Regions from separate parts of the Homo sapiens genome. Here region 1 is linked to region 2. The links are contacts of gene promoters, found by promoter capture Hi-C in human tissues and cell types (Jung and others, 2019). All regions are on one chromosome and are shown on one strand. Each heading gives the region's core, a stretch centred on a gene start or on the middle of the fragment in contact. The rest is flanking DNA. Distances are from core to core; before and after follow the strand shown.

Evidence for each region. The method cuts DNA at HindIII sites, captures the fragments that hold promoters and counts their contacts. A contact is called where the count stands out against the background at its distance.
Region 1: a fragment that was not itself captured here is called in contact with the fragment with the promoter of TBC1D12 in region 2 in 1 of the 25 tissues and cell types used here (ovary).

The regions. Positions count from the first base shown.
Region 1 is chr10:94,338,678-94,341,377 of GRCh38, reverse strand. NOC3L (NOC3 like DNA replication regulator) reads left to right here. Exons shown (of 21, transcript NM_022451.11): 15 at 882-945; 16 at 1,031-1,102; 17 at 1,458-1,639; 18 at 2,642-2,700. Among named protein-coding and RNA genes, the nearest start is that of NOC3L, 23 kb to the left of the region's middle. The HindIII fragment of the contact is 6,628 bases long and covers 1-2,700 here.
Region 2 is chr10:94,401,224-94,403,923 of GRCh38, reverse strand. TBC1D12 (TBC1 domain family member 12) reads right to left here and starts at 1,383. Exons shown (of 13, transcript NM_015188.2): 1 at 340-1,383. The coding sequence starts at 1,310. RefSeq lists enhancers at 1-175, 1,476-1,635 and silencers at 256-585, 656-1,145. The HindIII fragment of the contact is 13,183 bases long and covers 1-2,700 here.

The DNA of each region.
Region 1 (2,700 bases), core at 96-2,595, 63 kb after region 2:
TATTCATATAATATAGTTTGTAAATATTTTACTTGGGATATCAGTCACCTTAAATATGTGTCTTTATGTGACAACCATTCAAATTCTTCCCTCCTAGCTATTTTGAAATAGATAATAGATTATTGTAAACTATAGTCACCCTGTAAATCTGCCTCATACTAGGTTATCTTAAAGATAACCTTTATAGGTCTTTTTTTTCTTTTTTGAGATAGGGTCTCACTCAGTTGCCCAGGCCGGAGTGCAGTGGTGCAATCACAGCTCACTGCAGCCTTGACCTTCCAGGGCTCAGGTGATCCTCCCACTTTAGCCTTTTGAGTAGCTGGGACTACAGATGTGGGGCACCATACCTGGCTAATTTTTCTATTTTTTTGTAGAAATTTTTTTTTTTTTTTTTTTTGAGAGGGAGTCTTGCTCTGTCACCCAGGCTGGAGTGCAGTGGCGTGATCTCGGCTCACTGCAAGCTCCGCCTCCCGGGTTCACACCATTCTCCTGCCTCAGCCTCCCGAGTAGCTGGGACTACAGGCGCCCACCACCATGCCCGGTTAATTTTTTGTATTTTTAGTAGAGACAGGGTTTCACCGTGTTAGCCAGGATGGTCTTGATCTCCTGACCTCGTGATCTGCCCGCCTCGGCCTCCTGAAGTGCTGGGATTGCAGGCGTGAGCCACCGCGCCCGGCCCTGAGAGATGGGTTTTTGCCATGTTGCCCAAGCTGGTCTTGAACTCCTGGGCTCAAATGATCTGCCTGCCTCAGCCTCCCAAATTGCTGGGATTACAGGCTTGAGTCTTTGCTCCTGGCCTTAAAGTTCTTTTTTAAAGCTATAAATGGCAATTACCATTCTTAATATTCCATCCCCCTCACCCCCCCCTTTTTTTTTTAAAGGACCTAAGCTATCAAGAAAGTCTTCACTGTGTCCAGACTGCTTTTCATATTCTTTCTGGACAAGGTATGATATTTTCTTAATCAAGTTTTGTTTGCCTTACCTTTGAATGCTATAACATACCTAATTGGTGTTTGTTGTCATTTCAAAGGTGATGTTCTGAATATTGATCCATTGAAATTCTACACACATCTCTACAAAACACTGTTCAAATTACATGCAGGTATGTATGTTTAGATAATGTTTCTTTTATATGTATTTATGTTTTAAGAATATGTTATGACCCATCATTGTAGACAAATGAGAAATAGGAACAGGTACATAAAATGGTGACTTTCCAGTGCCATGCATCTGTATTTAATCTTATGTAAGACTTGGAGAAAGAGCTTCTGGAATTGACTGGAGATGCAGTAAGTATAGCCCGCTGTATCTCCTTAGCAGTATAGCACTACCTCATTGATTAGAGAAATGGTTTGGGACAGGTACAAAAGTTTATCTTGGGTTTATCTGAAGTTCAGTCCAGTTGCGTAATGAAAAAGTAATGAGAACAGCTCTGAAGAATATGTCTGCTGTTTTAGGTGCTACCAATGAAGGTGTTGAGATTGTACTCCAGTGCCTTGATGTCATGCTAACTAAGCGCAGAAAGCAAGTTTCTCAGCAGCGAGCTCTTGCCTTCATCAAACGCCTTTGTACCCTTGCTCTTCATGTTCTTCCAAATTCAAGTATTGGCATTTTAGCAACTACCAGAATATTAATGCATGTAAGTAGTGATACAAATGAACAGAGCTAAGTTCTTATAATGCAATGATTTTTTTTGTTTGAGGCATGTCTTTTCCCCCCTTTTATATTATTTCAATTACAGAAGTAATTCACACTTGTAACAAAATCAGGTGACAAAAGAGGTATATAAAATTGAAAAAAAGCATTTTATACCTATTGACACTTCTCAGTGTCATTAGGTGGGTATCCATTTACCATTTGGTGGGTATTTTTCCAGCAGCCTTTTAAAGTTCATATATAAACACATACACATAGAAACAACTCAACTTTGTATTTTAATGGAAAGAGGATTATGCTATATATTCTACCACTTTTTTAACCTTAGCATTTAATCATGGTAAACACATTATAATGTCACTACTCTCTTTATGTAAGGTTTATTTAATTCTTTGCTTAACAAACACCATAGTTCTGACTATGTGCCTTCCAGTTATAAATGCCTTACAAAAATTTAATTTTCATAACTCTGAGGTAGCTACTATTCTTGTTCCTATTGTACATGTGGGAAAACTGAGGTCCAGAGAGGTTAAGTGTCTTGGCTTGAGTAGCAGTGCCAGTCAGTGGTAGAAGTGATATTCAAATGTAGGCAGTCTGGTTTTTCTGCTTCTTTCTATTTCTCTTGATATAGGTTATTTCTTTTTTTGCTATTACAAATGATGCTATAGTGAATATCTTTATGTATTTATCTGATGTAATTATTTCTATCAGATTTCTAAAAGTGTGATTGCAAGGTGAGAAGCATATTTTTTTCTTTTGCAAGATAAAATTAATTTTCAAAGCAAGCAAAGATAAAATTTTTTTTTGCAACTCTTGTTCTTACTATATAAACTTAAATTGTTTTTTATTAAATCTAGGTGTAAAGACTTTATGCAAAGCTCTTATACAACCATAAATTTAAATGCAAATACAACTACAAACCAGTAACACCTCTTATATTAACAATGTTAATTTAACCAATTCTTTTTATGTGACATTTTTGCAGACTTTCCCCAAAACAGATCTACTGCTTGACAGTGAATCTCAGGGAAGTGGAGTTTTCCT
Region 2 (2,700 bases), core at 134-2,633:
CCAGAAAAGGCAACTGCATATGTGGCACTAGACAGCTGGCCCAACCTGACTGCTCAGAAGCCAGGTATGAATGGCAGGTACAGCCTCCCGCGGACAAGGCAACAGAAAGACTCGCTGTCCACAGAGCTCACAACTTCTCCTATAGAAACACAAAGCCGACCCAGTTCCTCTTCCTCCAGTGACAAATCAAAGCTAAGTCCTGACGCGTGTGGGGCTGGCACGGAAGCGGCCGACCAAGCTCTCCGCTCCGGCTCCGGCTCCGGCTCCGACTCCCACCAAGACCCCGGCTCCGGCCCCGGCCCCGGACCCGCCCCGAGTCCCATGCAGCCTGCGCTGTACCTGGTGAAGAAGTCCGCGAAGCCGCCACTCCGTCGAGCCCGGGCCGAAGCCCCCGCAGGACCCTGCTCCGCGGCGGGCAAGGGCACCGGCGGCCCCGCCGGGGGCAGGTGATCGCGGGCGCTCTGACCGCGGCTCACCTGGAACGTGTTGCGAGAGTTGAAGTGAATGTCAGAAAAGCCCAGGCGCGGCTCCGCACCCCCATTAGTCCTCTCGGCCGAGGTGGCAGGGGGCGCGCCCTCCTCGGGACCCCCGGCGCCGACTCCCCGCTGCTCTGAGTCCTCGCTACTGCTGCAGCTGCTGGCGGGGCTGTCCCCCGAGTCGCTGCCCGCGCCCTCGGGCTCCTGGGCGTCCGCGGCCACCAGGCAGCAGCTCCGCAGCGGGTCCTCAAGCGGAGAGGCCCAATCGGACGGGCTTCCCGCGCCGTCCGCGTCCTCGTCGCCAGGCCCCTCCAGGCGAAGGCGGCCGTAGGGGCGGCGGCGGCGCGACTCCCGGCCGCCGGCGCGCGCCAGCCCGCGAGCCTCTTCCAGATCGCGACAGTCCCGGCCCGGCAGAAAACCCGAGTCGCCGTTGGTCATGCCTTCGTGCCGCGGCGCGCGGCCATCAGCCACCTCCGCGCCGCGGTGTTTGGAGCCCGAGCCCAGCAGGCAGGCGTCCGATCGTGGGGCTGCCGAGGGCGGCGGGGCGCCGGCCTGGCCAGCGGGGAGCGGACAGTAGCAGAGCCCCGGCTCCAGCTGCTCCCCGGCCGCCGCGAGGTAACGCTGAAGGAGCTGCCGAGGCGGCGTCTCCTCCTCCTCGTCAGCCTCCTCCTCCTCGTCAGCCTCCTCCGGCGGCTCCACAGCGCCGACGCCTCCGCCAAAGCCGCCCGTGGCCCGGATTACCTTCCTGTCCTGGCCCACGGGGTCCGGCGCAGGCACCGGGAGCAACTTGGGGTTTCTTCCCGAGCAGGCTCCGGCATCCTCCGGACCCACCATCTGGGGGTGGGTGGCGGCCGCCCCAGGAGGCAAAGAAGGACTACAGGCGCAGGCTTGGCCAGAGAACAGCTCTGGGTGCTGGGGCCGCGGCGACAGCCGCCGCAACGTTCCCAGACCCACCCCTCCCACCCGCTGGGTCGGACAGTTGCTTGAGGGCGGGCACGCGCCAGGACTCGCGCACGCGCAAAAGTCGGACCGGTCAAGCCCCGACCTGGAGATTCCCCGAACCATAGAGACGGTAGCTAGAGAGACGCAGGCTGCCAATCTAGGATCCGCCATCTGGATGGTGGAAGCTGGTTGGCCCGCTCTAAGCGTGACAGTTCTTACCGAAGCGCGGGTATTGCTCGCTTAGCAAAAATTCACTTGATGTATTTCATTTATGGTAGTAAAATACTCCCATATTTGGGAGGTGTTAGCGTGGGTAAGTCCTTCCAGCTCTAATTGGTCACCAGTCGACTTTACGATTTTTACATCCTTCTCCGGCATCATTGCCACAGTTCAGGGCTTCATCACTTCATCCAGGAGGGTCAACACCCTCCCTTCTTCACTTCATCTAACACAAAAGAAAGATATCCTAAGTTATCTTGCTCACCTAGCACCATGTTTCATCACAGTCCTCTGTTTAAAAGATTATCACCGGCCGGGCGCGGTGGCTCACGCCTGTAATCCCAGCACTTTGGGAGGCCGAGGCGGGTGGATCACAAGGTCAGGAGATGGAGACCATCCTGGCTAACACGGTGAAACCCTGTCTCTACTAAAAATACAAAAAAATTAGCTGGGCATGGTGGCGGGCGCTTGTAGTCCCAGCTACTCGGGAGGCTGAGGCAGGAGAATGGCGTGAACCCGGGAGGCGGAGCTTGCAGTGAACCGAGATCGCGCCACTGCACTCCAGCCTGGGCGACAGAGCGAGACTCCGTCTCAAACAAGAAAAAAAGATTATCACCTAAGGAGGGAGAGGAAGTGGTCAGGCAGAGAGGAGCTATTGAAATAATTCCAGCACTCTGCGATAGTGGATTAAAATGGGATGATTGACCATTGAGTGGAAATGAAGTATATTTAAAGTAAAAGACGAAAGACTTGATAACTGATCAGAAGTGACAGAAGAGAGAGTAACCAATGATTACTACAAAGATATGAGACTGAAACTGATATGGTTTGAAGAAATAGAAAAGTGGATAGGAAAAAAACGATTAATAGGGGAAATACATCTGGTAAAGTAAACGACTGAAAATATCCAGCATATAGAGTTCTAAAACTTGAGTTGGCTGGGCGCAGTGGCTCACGCCTATAATCCCAACACGTTGGGAGGCCGAGGCAGGTGGATCACCTGAGGTCAGGAGTTCGAGACCAGCCTGGCCAACATGGTGAAACCCAGTCCCTACTAAAAATA